Regions from separate parts of the Homo sapiens genome. Here region 2 is linked to region 1. The links are contacts of gene promoters, found by promoter capture Hi-C in blood cells and fetal thymus (Javierre and others, 2016). All regions are on one chromosome and are shown on one strand. Each heading gives the region's core, a stretch centred on a gene start or on the middle of the fragment in contact. The rest is flanking DNA. Distances are from core to core; before and after follow the strand shown. Region 1 holds the start of CD27 (CD27 molecule). Region 2 holds the start of C12orf57 (chromosome 12 open reading frame 57).

Evidence for each region. The method cuts DNA at HindIII sites, captures the fragments that hold promoters and counts their contacts. A CHiCAGO score of 5 or more calls a contact.
Region 2: the fragment with the promoter of C12orf57 here is called in contact with the fragment with the promoter of CD27 in region 1 in 1 of 17 cell types (non-activated CD4 T cells); the score reaches 6.9 in non-activated CD4 T cells.

What each region holds. Positions count from the first base shown.
Region 1 is chr12:6,440,590-6,447,554 of GRCh38, forward strand. It overlaps CD27 (CD27 molecule), which reads left to right and starts at 4,366. Exons shown (of 6, transcript NM_001242.5): 1 at 4,366-4,642; 2 at 4,835-4,966. The coding sequence starts at 4,507. CD27-AS1 (CD27 antisense RNA 1) reads right to left here. Exons shown (of 6, transcript NR_015382.2): 4 at 6,372-6,498; 5 at 2,957-3,128. RefSeq lists silencers at 2,148-2,287, 2,388-2,467 and enhancers at 3,458-3,527, 3,548-3,597, 4,502-5,003, 4,548-4,607, 4,638-4,817 and 1 more. The HindIII fragment of the contact is 1,289 bases long and covers 3,778-5,066 here.
Region 2 is chr12:6,939,231-6,946,195 of GRCh38, forward strand. C12orf57 (chromosome 12 open reading frame 57) reads left to right here and starts at 4,792. Exons shown (of 3, transcript NM_138425.4): 1 at 4,792-4,943; 2 at 5,246-5,422; 3 at 6,541-6,772. The coding sequence starts at 4,892. The coding sequence ends at 6,692. RNU7-1 (RNA, U7 small nuclear 1) reads left to right here and starts at 4,586; the gene lies at 4,586-4,648. ATN1 (atrophin 1) reads left to right here. Exons shown (of 10, transcript NM_001940.4): 8 at 1,650-1,793; 9 at 2,144-2,324; 10 at 2,517-3,091. The coding sequence ends at 2,550. RefSeq lists enhancers at 4,600-5,179, 4,679-4,868, 5,169-5,288, 5,180-5,759, 5,299-5,448 and 3 more and a silencer at 5,082-5,341. The HindIII fragment of the contact is 10,579 bases long and covers 4,731-6,965 here.

The DNA.
Region 1 (6,965 bases), core at 3,116-5,615:
GTGGAGAGCTGCCAGATCCCACATATCTCTGTTAAACTTTGCTTCCTGGATGAGGCACTCCCTACCCCTTAAATCCCCCTATTAGGGGTATAGACACCTATATTGCACCCCAACTCTCTCCTTCATAGCAATAATGACCATTACTAACTAATTTTAATTTTGTTTTGTTTTTTGGGTTTTGTGAGATGAGGTCTTGCTCTATCTCCCAGGCTTGAGTGCACTGGCATGATCATGGCTCACTGCAACCTCGACCCCCTGGGCTCAAGTGATCCTCCCACCTCAGCCTTCCGAGTGGCTGGGACCACAGGCACGTGCCACCACACCCAGTTAATTTATTTTTATTATGTGTAGAGACGGGGTGTCACTCTGTTGCCCAGGCTGGTCTTAAACTCCTAGGCTCAAGCAATCCTTCCGCCTCGGCCTCCCAACGTGACTGGGATTCCAGGTGTGAGCCGCCTCACCTGGCCAATTTTACATTTGTCTTTGAGATTATATGATCGATGTCTGACTCTCACACTGGTGTGTCAACTCCGTCAGGGCAGAAACCACATATTTGTCTGTTTGTTTTTCATCTTTGTGCCCCATTACTTGGCTGGTTCCTAACACAAAATGAATGTGCAAAAAACGCTTGTCAAATGAATGAGGAGGTCTAAGGGGCCTTGAGCCCTCTGACGTTTCCATTTTATAATTGTGGACAGAGCCGCTACAGCACAAAGCTGAGCTGGACCATCCAATGTTTAGCCAGTGCCTTACGTGCTAGGAGACACTGGGAGCTGTGCTGGGCTTCTGAGGAGTGGGCAGAGGCTGGAAATACCCATAGTTGGTCAGTCTCCTGTGTCACCCAGACTGGGGAGGTGCAGAAATGAAAATTACAGAGCTGCGAGGACCCAGAACCTCATTAATGAGCTTAACTCACTGTCCTGACCAGGTGGCCTCTCAAAGCCTTGCTGGGAAGGAGGCTTTAAGGTGGTGGGGGCAGCAGTGCTGGTGGTGGTCATCGAAGAAAGTGGGAGTCGGGGAGGAAGCAATGGGGAGCAGGGGACAAAGAGGGCCAGACAAACTCAGAGCTTCAGGTGATGAGACTCAGGAAGCCTAAGTCAGGAACAGTGATTGCGGACATCTTTGTCCCATAACAGAACTTCCTCCTAAGGAAAGGTCTTGCAGAGACTGGTCCTGCTGAGCGCTTTAACAGGTTATTGATTCATAAAAATTGGAGAAAAAAGACAAAGTCTGCCACACCTAACAGCCTTCTGTTTAGAGCTGGTTTAGAGGAAACTTTAAGCAAGTCTTGTGTCCAACAATTTGGGCCTGAGGCAGGGTACAGGTAAGGGAACAGACAGGAGACACGGAGGCAAGAACAAGACTTTAGCTGAAAGAGAAATCAGAGCCAGAGGCAGCCACAAGAACACCCAACCTACTGGAACTCATGCAGGTGGACAGCCTGCCCAGGACTTGCCCTGAGTGGGAAGCAAAGAGCATCTTATCTAGATTTTAAGGAGCAGGGTGCCCCTGGCTGACATCTAGGCTACAGTCACTGGGCCAGGTGGAGGGTTGGTCAGGCCCTCTCAAAAGTCATGAGAGGCCAGGCACAGTGGCTCACGCTTGTAATCCCAACACTTTGGGAGGCCGAGGAGGGCAGATCACTTGAGGCCAGGAGTTTGAGACCAGCCTGGCCAACATAGTGAAACCCCGTCTCTACTAAAAATACAAAAAATTAGCCGGGTATGGTGGCCGGTGCCTATAATCCCAGCTACTTGGGAGGCTGATGTATAAGAATCGCTTGAACCTGGGAGGCAAAGGTTGCAGTGAGCTGAGATCATGCCACTGCACTCCAGCCTGGGCAACAGTGAGAGACCCTTTCTCAAAAAAAAAAAAAAAAAAAAGAACCAAAAAAAGTCATGAGAGTCCTCAGAGTTCTCAAGAAGGGCTGCTGTGGGCCTGTTTCTGGAAAGGAAAGAAAAGCAGGGAGCTGTTGAGAAAATACCATATGTTTTTATGCCCCAGCCAGGCATGGGGGAGAGGCTGACCCCAAAAGAGAAAGTGGTTGTGTGAGATTTCAAGGAAGATGTCAGCGGGCTGCATCCCAGGGCCTCTAGACAAAAGGAAGGGCCCAGCCAGGCATGGTGGCTCGTGCCTGTAATCCCAGCACTTTGGGAGGCCGAGGCAGGCAGATCACCTGAGGCTAGGTGTTCTGGTCCAGCCTGGCCAACATGACAAAACCCCATCTCTACTAAAAATACAAAAAATAAGCTGGGCGCGGTGGCTCTCCCCTGTAATCCCAGCCAAGGTGGGCGGATCAACTTGAGGCCAGCCTGACCAACGTGGCAAAACTCCATCTCTACTAAAAATACAAAAATTAGCTGAGCGTGGTGGCACGCACCTGTCATCCCAGTTACTCAGGAGGCTGAGGCGTGAGAATGGCTTGAGCCTGGGAGACAGAGGTTGCAGTGAGCTGAGATTGCATCATTGCACTCTAGCCTGGGTGACAGAGTGAAATGGAGGGAGGAAAAAAAAAAAAAAGGAAGGTCCCGTCCAGGGAGCCAGCCTAGGATGGGGAAGGCTCACCAGAAGTGGATGCAAAGAGTGCTGGAGATGAGCTCATTCTATTTGCCTAGGAAAGAAAAACGTCCAGAAACCTGGCCTTCCTCCTCTTGGCCGAGGCCCTCCAGGAAAGCCAGGCAGACCCTGCTCCTGCTCTGACCCCCTGGAGAAGTGATATGTAGAAAAGAGGAGATGGGCTTTGGCCCAGAGGACAGCAGCGTTAGGCTAGTGAGCAGTTCCCAGTCGGTTCAAGGTTGCTAGGCTCAGCGAACTGCAAGTCCCTGTTCGACAAGTTTCTTCCTAAAGGTCCCCAGTTCCTCATGATTCTTCTGAGGGTCTCATCCACCCTCCCAGGGCCTGCAGTCAGCTAGCCACCCCACTGCCCCATGCCTGCAGTGAACACATTTACCACAACCTGGAAATGGCTGGTGACAGAAAAGTCCTCACGGCCACAACACTCTCTGCGGTGGGAATTCAGGTGCCTTGCCTGATGGTGACAAAGCTGGTTTTGCATAAACAGCTCTCTGAATCACACCCAAATGTGGCTTCTGACTTGAGTGGACCCCCATGAAGAGCTGCAGAGGGGGCTGGGAAAAGACAAGAGAATGGAGAAAATGAGGAGAAAGGAAACTACAGAGTGAGATAGAGAACAGATCTGACAGGTGTGACCACAGCAGTGTGACATTTATGAACAGTGTGGAAACAACGGCAAAGCCCCTAAATTAAAAACTTCCTGGGGAAATAAGCCACTCCACATATCGGTTGCTGAGGAAAGAGTGGAGGAGGCTGTTGACCCGTGTGTGTCCCCATGACTCAAAGAGGGAAAAGTCTAGCTGTTTCCAATATCCCGAAATCAGTCTTGCTGGGAGAACTGGGAAAATAAAAAAGAGATGACCCCCGTAGGAAGCTACCTTTAATCCCAAGTGCCCAAGGCTAGGAGAGAAGATGCTCCAGGCGATCCAGGACACCAGTGACTGACACAGCCAGAGGTGGGAAAGGGGAGGATAAAGATGGCACAAAAGTGAGGAGTGAGCAAGGGTCTGAGAGGGAAGGCCATGTGGGCAGTAGGTGGCACCCACATCAGAGACTGACATGAGGATTAAAGGAGAGCATAGGTGATCGGTCAGAGTGTGACAGAAGAGAGGCAGCTCTACACCCCTTGCTTGCAATTCTGAGCATTCTGTAGCAAACTCGTTTGGCCATCAAACCAGACCTCAATTGAGACAAGGCTATTTAAGCTTCCTCCCAGTTGGTGTAAATATTCAATAGTTTTGCTGCAGAAATGTTGCGTTTGATTATGAGACTACCCCAACTCCCCAAGGGTGTTTTGTGGTGCTGGTTTCTGTATAAACCTGAAAAATTCTGAATTCCAAAACTTATCTGACCCCCAAAGTTTCAGATAAGAGCTTGTGGACCTGTGCTCAATTCTGGTTCTCCTTCCTTCTTTCAACTGTTGTCTGTGAAAGGAGGGATGCAGGTATGGGAGACAGGAGTCCTGCGAATTCGTCTGTAAACTGTGGACGGGGGGGTGGGTGGGGGGGGGTAACGTGGGCACCTTTGTGCACAAGTGCATGAATAGGAGGGGTGAGCAACTGTGTGTCCATCACCTTTTTGTCAAAGAAGCAGGAGTCAGTGGGCTACGTGCTTCATGAGCAGGAGAGGCGGAAACTAAGGAAGGCTCATGTGTTGGAGGAAGCATGTTTGAAGAGCAGCAGGTCTCACAGAGTTTGCTCTTTAATACTCTCCCCAGCACACGGAAGGGGAAGGGGGTGGAGGTTGCTGCTATGAGAGAGAAAAAAAAAACAGCCACAATAGAGATTCTGCCTTCAAAGGTTGGCTTGCCACCTGAAGCAGCCACTGCCCAGGGGGTGCAAAGAAGAGACAGCAGCGCCCAGCTTGGAGGTGCTAACTCCAGAGGCCAGCATCAGCAACTGGGCACAGAAAGGAGCCGCCTGGGCAGGGACCATGGCACGGCCACATCCCTGGTGGCTGTGCGTTCTGGGGACCCTGGTGGGGCTCTCAGCTACTCCAGCCCCCAAGAGCTGCCCAGAGAGGCACTACTGGGCTCAGGGAAAGCTGTGCTGCCAGATGTGTGAGCCAGGTAAGAGGGGGCCTTGGTAAGGGCCAGGTGAGTGGCGAAAGAGAGAGGACTGGGGTTAATACAGTAAATAGGCGCAGGGTGAGACTGAGCTCAAGCAAGGAGGGAAATCCTGCAGCTGTGGGGAGGCACCACCTTGAAGAGGGCAGAGAACCAGCCCTTCTCAGGCCTTGATCCCTTACCCTCTCCTCCCAGGAACATTCCTCGTGAAGGACTGTGACCAGCATAGAAAGGCTGCTCAGTGTGATCCTTGCATACCGGGGGTCTCCTTCTCTCCTGACCACCACACCCGGCCCCACTGTGAGAGCTGTCGGCACTGTAACTCTGGTGAGGTGGGCAAGGGTGTGTAGGTGGGGACGATGGACAAGCATCTGGGGGAGCAAGGCTGGTGACGGGTTTGGGGGTGCAAGGAGGATGACGGGGCCAAAGCTTTGGCCTTCTTCAAGGCTCACAGCAAGTGGAGCCAATGCTGGGAAATGCGGCACCCTAGGTGGGGCATGAATTAACGTGGGCAGACATCTAGTATTCCAGGAAAGGGATAAATAGAATTTGAGGGATTGGTGAGAACGGGTCTATGGATAGGATCAAGACAATAAAATGAGAGAAGTGGCTCTATGACCCCAGATTTCGGGCAAGCAACCCCCAACCAATAAACTGACTGTGTTCCCAGAGTGCACATGTGCAGGTTGGCCATTGGGAATTTGGAATACATCTTTCTAAGGAAATAACAAAGCAACCCAATAGGTAACAACCTTTTTTTGCACAAAAGCCAATTTGAGAAAATGAGTATGTATGTAGCCTGTGTTTTTATTTTATAGTTCCAAAAAAAAAGGTTTTTTTTAAACTAAGAAGTATAATATCTGCAGTTGTGCTTATGAATGCTGTTATTATTTCTCCATCTTCGCTACAATTTCAGAAACTACGGCCAGTATACACTAGAATAGCAGGCTTTAAAGTGGCCCCTTTGAACAAATGTTCTCTAGCAAGACACTTTTTAGAACCAGGTAACTGTAACTATTAAACTACCTACTTGCAAAACGTGTTTGGTGTCACTGGGTCTCTTGGTACTGGGTTTTGTTTTGTTTAGTTTAGAGACAAGGTCTAGCTCTGTCACCCAGGCTGGAGTGCAGTGGTGCAATCATAGCTCCCCACAGCCTTGAACTCCTGGGCTCAAGCAATCTTCTAGTCTCAGCCTCTGAAAGTGCCAGGATTACAGGTGTGAGCTGTAGTGCCTGGTCCCGTAAAAACAAAAACAAAAACCAACACCAGATGTGGTGGCTCATGCCTATAATCCCAGCACTTGGGAGGCCAAGGCAGAAGGGTATTTGCATATTTTGTAGAGACTTGAGCCCAGGAGCTTGAGACCAGCTGGGCAACATAGTGAGACCTTGTCTCTAAAAAAATTGGCTGGTCATGGTAGTGCACCTGCAGTCCCAGCTACTTGGGAGGCTGAGATGGGAAGATCACTTGAGCCCAAGAGGTCCCCAAGAGGTCCAGGCTGCTCACATCACTGCACTCCAGCCTGGGTAACAGAGCAAAACCCTTTTTCACACACACACACACACACACACAAAAAGCCAGAGCAGTGGCTCACACTTGTAATCCCAGCACTTTAGGAGGCCAAGGCAGGCGGATCCCTTGAGCCCAGGAGTTTAAGAACACCCTGGGCAACATGGCAAAACCCTGTCTCTACTAAAAATACAAAAAGTTAGCCAGGCGTGGTGGCACGAACCTGTAGTCCCAGCTACTCAGAAGGCTGAAGTGAGAAGATCACTTGAGTCCAGGAAGTGGAGGCTGCAGTGAGCCGTGACTGTACCACTGCACTCCAGCTTGGGAGACAGAGTGAGCAGAGTGAGACCCTGTTTCCAAAAAAAAAAAGAAAACAAAAGCTTTTCCATTGCAAATCAACCAAAAAGGAACGTCTTTAATACACAAGAAATATTCTTCAGTCTACTTAACTTAAAAATGTAACTGTAATAGATGCTTTTCTCTTGACAGCGGCCCCGGCAGGGTTGGAACTTTTCCTAGTCAAAACCCCCCTACTCACTCTGCAGACCCTTCCTGAAGGTCTTCGCCCCATACTGAGCCCATCTTCAGTCCCTTCACTTGTTCCAAACTAGCCCAATCCATGACCCTTCTCTGGGAGCTCAGCCAATAGATCCCAAAGTACCACAGCAGCACCTGGCTGCAGAAGGACCCCCGGGAAATGCAGTCAGGGGTGAGAAGATGGGTGGGCTGAATGAGCTCGGCCCTCTCTGGGCCTTAGTGCTGGCATCTATGAGATGAGGACATGCCTGAAGTCAGCCTGGAATTTTGAGCCCAGGTT
Region 2 (6,965 bases), core at 3,542-6,041, 500 kb after region 1:
TGACTGGGCTCTTTCATTCCTATGGCCAAGACTTTCCTCCCCTGGCCTGGCATGAACCTTTCCTGAGATTGCTGCCCTGAACTTTGCCTCCCTGACGTTCTCTCAGCCTTGTCTTCTCATGGCCTTCCCTGGCCACAAAGCCTGTATGCCCCACAGCCCAGTTCTCTCCATAGTCTAGTATCCTTCCCATGACAGAGGCCCACACGGGAGCTTTTGAAGGACACTTTTCTATTCTCACAGCCCCATTCTCCCAAGCCCTTCACAAACCTGTCTTCTTATTTATTTTTTTGAGACATGGTCTGGCTCTGCCACCCAGGCTGGAGTGTAGTGGCGCAATCACAGCTCACTGCAGCCTCGACTTCCCGGTCTCAAGTGATCCTCCTACCTCAGCCTCTGGAGTAGCTGGGATTACAGGCGTGTGTCACCATACCTGGCTACTTTTTGTATTTTTGGTAGAGACGGGGTTTCGCCATGTTGGCCATGGCTGGTCTCAAATTCCTGAGCTCAAAGCGATCCACCCACCTCGGCCTCCCAAAGTCCTGAGATTACAGGCGTGAGCCACCGTGCCCAACCCACAAACCTATCTTCTGATTTCTCTGGATTCAACTCATTTTTTGCCATTTTCTCCTCTTCTCCCTCTGCGAGGTCTTTCATGTTTTTCCCCATCTCTAGATCTGTAACTTTCTAGAAAGGGCCCTGTAGCTTTGGGTTTGGGTGTCATAGGCGATAATGAGCTTTACTTACTATCCTTTCACCATTTTTTGGTTTTTGAGACGGAGTCTCGCCCTGTCACCAAGCTGGAGTGCAGTGGCGCGATCTCGGCTTACTGCAACCTCCGCCTCTGGGGTTCAAGTGATTCTTCTGCCTCAGCAGGCACTGCCTGCCCGAGTAGCTGGGACTGCAGGCGTGTGCCACCAAGTACAGCTAATTTTTGTATTTTTAGTAGACACGGGGTTTCACCATGTTGGCCAGGATAGTCTTGATCTCTTGACCTTGTGATCCACCCGCCTTGGCCTCCCAAAGTGCTGGAATTACAAGCGTGAGCCACCGCACCCGGCTTCCTTTTTTTCTTTTGCCCAGACTGGAGTGCAGTGGCGCGATCTCGGCTCACTGCAGCTTCCACCTCCCAGGTTCAAGCGATTCTCCTGCCTCAGCCTCCCGAGGAGCTGGGACTATAGGCGTGTGCCACCCTGCCTGGCTAATTTTTTTGTATTTTTTGTAGAAACAGGGTTTCACCATCTTGGCCAGGCTGGTCTTGAACTCCTCACCTCAGGTGAGCTGCCTGCCTCAGCCTCCCAAAGTGCTGAGATTATAGGCTTGAGCCACTGTGCCCGGCCTCTTCTTGTCTTATTTTCTAAACTTCTATCATCTTCCACCTTCTTCACGCAGTCTACCTCTCTCTGTCCTTCCCCTCAGACCCTTCTGATGACTGTAATCTCCTGTCCTGTGTCATCCATATGTCCCTCCTCCAGTAGGGCTCAGCCTGTCCACCCCTGCCAGGCCTCTAGTTCTTCCACTCTGCCTTTGTTCCACTTTGGACCTCCTTGTGTTTGTCTGACTCAGTTCCCAGGCTTGGATCCCTTCACCCAAATGCATGGTTTGCCCCAAACCTGCCTTCTGGTGACACCTTCCTCTTCTCTGCCCTCCAGCCTCTGCCTCGGTGCACCCTCTCATTGACCCCCTGGCCTCAGGGTCTCACCTTACCCGGATCCCCTACCCAGCTGGAACTCTCCCTAACCCCCTGCTTCCTCACCCTCTGCACGAGAACGAAGTTCTTCGTCACCAGCTCTTTGGTAAGGATGGAAGTTGGGGTAGGCAGCTCCAATGAGAAAAGGGCAGAAAGGAGGTATTTGGGTGGGGGGATGGGCCTAGTTGGGCTTGGGGAGGGATGAGGAGGTGCCTAGAGGAGCTGGGCATGGGAATAGGAGAGCTGGAGCTCTGCCCAAGAGAAGCACGAGTTTTAGTGTCAGCCTAAGAGGTTCGAATCCCAATTCCACCCTACCACTGGCAACTTACAGAACTGGGTGTGTTACCTCACTTTTTAGTTCATTACCTTTGTATGTAAAGGAGCTGGCTATCCCCTGGTCCAGAGCAGGTACTTGTTATCCGTTGGTCATATGCCCCTTGCCCTTCCTGCTCACAGCTGCCCCTTACCGGGACCTGCCGGCCTCCCTTTCTGCCCCGATGTCAGCAGCTCATCAGCTGCAGGCCATGCACGCACAGTCAGCTGAGCTGCAGCGCTTGGCGCTGGAACAGCAGCAGTGGCTGCATGCCCATCACCCGCTGCACAGTGTGCCGCTGCCTGCCCAGGAGGACTACTACAGGTACCCTAGGGTGCCCCAGCCCAGGGGACATGGGCTCAGCGAGCCTGGGAGGAGCTGTGGGCATGGTACGGCTGGGCACCGTGCTCCTGGGGGAGGGAACCCCTCCTCTCCCAACCCCTTCGGTAAGAGGGGGCAAGGTCAGAGTTGGTCTCAAGTCTCTTACCTCTCTGCTATGCACTGCCCCTTCCCTAGTCACCTGAAGAAGGAAAGCGACAAGCCACTGTAGAACCTGCGATCAAGAGAGCACCATGGCTCCTACATTGGACCTTGGAGCACCCCCACCCTCCCCCCACCGTGCCCTTGGCCTGCCACCCAGAGCCAAGAGGGTGCTGCTCAGTTGCAGGGCCTCCGCAGCTGGACAGAGAGTGGGGGAGGGAGGGACAGACAGAAGGCCAAGGCCCGATGTGGTGTGCAGAGGTGGGGAGGTGGCGAGGATGGGGACAGAAAGCGCACAGAATCTTGGACCAGGTCTCTCTTCCTTGTCCCCCCTGCTTTTCTCCTCCCCCATGCCCAACCCCTGTGGCCGCCGCCCCTCCCCTGCCCCGTTGGTGTGATTATTTCATCTGTTAGATGTGGCTGTTTTGCGTAGCATCGTGTGCCACCCCTGCCCCTCCCCGATCCCTGTGTGCGCGCCCCCTCTGCAATGTATGCCCCTTGCCCCTTCCCCACACTAATAATTTATATATATAAATATCTATATGACGCTCTTAAAAAAACATCCCAACCAAAACCAACCAAACAAAAACATCCTCACAACTCCCCAGGAACATGGCTGTGACTATTCTTTGCGGGATATGGGGGTGAGGCTGGGTCTCAGTGCAGCGGTGCTTAGAGAGAACTGCAGCCAGGGCCTGGCAGGGAAGCGGGAAGAGACCAGACCTTCTTAAGGAACGGGGTGTGGGGGCTGGGAAGAATTGGAGAGGGGATCCCTGAAGAGCCCAGAGCCTTGACTCAGCTGGAGGCGGTACCATGGGTGCTGGTGCCCCCTCCTGCCCCAAGGCTGGGCAGGACCGCTGCGCGCCAGTGGAGGCCTCGGTCTGGGCTCTGTGGCTTATGCCTGTGAGACGCGGGTGGATTGCTTGAGCCCAGGAGTTGGAAACCAGCTTGGGCAACATAGAGAAACCCCATCTTAAGACAAAATCAGCTGGGGGTTGTGGTGCACTTGTGGTCCCAGCTACTCAGGAGGCTGAGGTGGGAGGATCACTTGGGGGTCGAGGCTACAGTGAGTCATGATCGCACCACTGCACTCTAGCCTGGGTGACAGAGCAAGGCCCTATCTCAAAACAAACAAACAAAAGACACCCCAACCAACCAAACACTAGAGGCCTGGGACAGGCCCACCTCTGACGTGGTCAGTTCTAGGAATCTATTCAGACGGGTCTCACTGCTAGGAGCCACCAGAGTCCTCCGGAACAAGGGCTTCAGAGTCCTGAAACCTTTCCGTGGAATACTTTAAGAAACGGTTATGAGGCCAGGCGCGACGGCTCACGCTGGTAATCCCAGGACTTTGGGAGGCCGAGGCGGGCGGATCACGAGGTCAGGAGTTCCAGACCAGCTTGGCCAACATGGCAAAACCCTGTCTCTACTAAAAACAAAACATTAGCTGGGCATGGTGGCGCGCGCCTGTCGTCCCAGCGACTTGGGAGGTTGAGGCAGGAGAATCGCTTGAACCCGGGAGGTGGAGGTTATGGTGAGCCAAGATCCCCCCCAGCTGCACTCCAGCTTGGCGACAGAGCAAGACTCCGTCTCAAAAACAAAAAACAAAGCCGGTTATGAAGCGGGGGTGGGGTGGGCTAGTTTTAATAGGTCCAGGCGATTAGTACCTGGCATCCTTAACCACCTACAGTTTGAGAAGGGAGTGGGTGATAAAAGCCTGGAAGGGAAGGGAAATCGGGCCGGGCATTAGGCTCCATCGCTCATCAATAGACAAGGCCTTTAGGAAACTGCGACAACGGCTTTTGCTCTGGGCCTTTACTGCCGAATCCAGGTCTCCGGGCTTAACAACAACGAAGGGGCTGTGACTGGCTGCTTTCTCAACCAATCAGCACCGAACTCATTTGCATGGGCTGAGAACAAATGTTCGCGAACTCTAGAAATGAATGACTTAAGTAAGTTCCTTAGAATATTATTTTTCCTACTGAAAGTTACCACATGCGTCGTTGTTTATACAGTAATAGGAACAAGAAAAAAGTCACCTAAGCTCACCCTCATCAATTGTGGAGTTCCTTTATATCCCATCTTCTCTCCAAACACATACGCAGCAGTGTTACAGCTCTTTTAGAATTTGTCTAGTAGGCTTTCTGGCTTTTTACCGGAAAGCCCCTCTTATGATGTTTGTTGCCAATGATAGATTGTTTTCACTGTGCAAAAATTATGGGTAGTTTTGGTGGTCTTGATGCAGTTGTAAGCTTGGGGTATGAAGGTTTGGGCCACGCCTGGGCGCTTCCGGCTGCGCCGGATGCTGTTTCCTTTCCGCTCCCAGGGGCGTTGGGAACGGTTGTAGGACGTGGCTCTTTATTCGTGAGTTTTCCATTTACCTCCGCTGAACCTAGAGCTTCAGACGCCCTATGGCGTCCGCCTCGACCCAACCGGCGGCCTTGAGCGCTGAGCAAGCAAAGGGTGAGAATCGTCCTAGTCAAGGCATAGGCTGCTGGCCTGGGGTAGTCAAGGCATGGGCTGCTGGTCTGGGGAGGATGCGGGCGGAGGATGTGGGGCGACAAACCTGGCTACGTCCGCCGGGAAAATGGGGTAGGGGACGCCGGGTACCGTCCTTCTAAGTGGGGCGCTTGCCCCCAAGACTTGGGATCTTATTGGGTTACCTACAGCCTCAATCCACTAATTCCTTGCGCTCTCCGCTGGGCCCGCTGTCTGTTCTCCGACGCCTACCCGGGACGCCTCCCTGGGATGCTTCTGGCGCGCAGTGGTCCTCGCGGAGGTGATCCAGGCGTTCTCCGCCCCGGAGAATGCAGTGCGCATGGACGAGGCTCGGGATAACGCCTGCAACGACATGGGTAAGATGCTGCAATTCGTGCTGCCCGTGGCCACGCAGATCCAGCAGGAGGTTATCAAAGCCTATGGCTTCAGCTGCGACGGGGAAGGTGGGTCAGACGCGGGAAGGCGGGTCAGACGCGGGAAGGCGGGAGTTGGGTCGGGAGAGGGCGCCGGATCTGTGGGCCCATGAGCGGTTGTCCCCTTTCTCGCCACACGGCGGCAGCCACAATCTGACTAACATTCTTGGCACTCAGAGCCCAGGGTCTACCCTGAGCTTGTGCGTCCGAGTTGCGTTTTGTACAGTAGAGGTTCTGTATCCCTTACCCGAAATGGTTGGGACCGGAAGTGTTTCGGGTTTTTTCAGATTTCGGAATATTTACATATACATGGATATCTTGGGGGATGGGACCTAAATCTGAACACGAAATTGTTTTGTTTCATATACACGCACCTTATGCACATAGCCTGAGGGTAATTTTATATAATAGTCTGAATAATTTTGTGCATGAGACAAAGTTTTGACTGCGTTTTGACTACAGTCTCCCCCACCCCCCACTATGAAGTCAGGTGTGGAATTTTCCATTTTCGGCCTCACACTGGCACTCATAATTTCAGATTTTGGATTTTCTAATTAAGGATGGTCAACCTGTACTGTTAATCACATTATTATTCCATTTTGTGATGAGGAAGCAAACTCTAATGGTGCAGACTCTCGAGTAGCAGAGCTGGACTTAAATGCTGTTGTGCCACCTTTTAGTGACATGTCTGCATGACAGCAGTGGCTGCAGTCTCTCCAGGGTGTTTCAGCTAATTTTTGTTTGGGGGGGGTTGGTGGTTAAATTTTTGGTGAGATCCTGGTGTTCCCCAAAGGTGTTGACTGATTCAGCTCTGCTGCCTCATAGCCTTCCTGAGTTCCAGCTACAGACCTGGGGTCTCGTGTTCATTCTTGGGGTTCCAGTGACTAAACTGCTAAAATGGTTCACCTGAGAGCAAGAAGCACACTGCCTTGGGACATTTTCATTCACTGCATCCCATCTAGTTGTGCCCAGTGTAGACCAAATGTCATCATCCAAACCACACGGGACAGAGGCCTGCATGCGTCCTGTTTGGCAAACAGCTGCCCAGCCAGTGGGGGAGCAGTTCATGCTTAGACTACCACCCCCTCCAGGTGTCTTAGGCACGCTGGTCCTTAGGAGAAGGGTTGACCTTCCACTCCCTCTTGCAGGTGTCCTTAAGTTTGCTCGCTTGGTCAAGTCCTACGAAGCCCAGGATCCTGAGATCGCCAGCCTGTCAGGCAAGCTGAAGGCGCTGTTTCTGCCGCCCATGACCCTGCCACCCCATGGGCCTGCTGCTGGTGGCAGCGTGGCCGCCTCCTGAGAGTTGGCCCTCCCTTGTGCCACTGCCAGGGGAGGAAAGGCCTTGATGTTCCAGACAATAATAAATGCGCCTGTGACTTAGCCTTGGTGTCAGTCTCTTGCGGACCTGACAACCCCCATCTCTCCTTCCCTGATTCCCTCTGCCTTTCCAGGCCCCATCCCCCTGAACAGCTCCTCCCTATGGTCCTGGCTGGGCCTAACCCTGCCCCAGGGCCTAACCCTACCTGAGGCTCCTCCCCTTCCCCCGGGGCAGGTTGAGAGGCTGGAGTGGGTC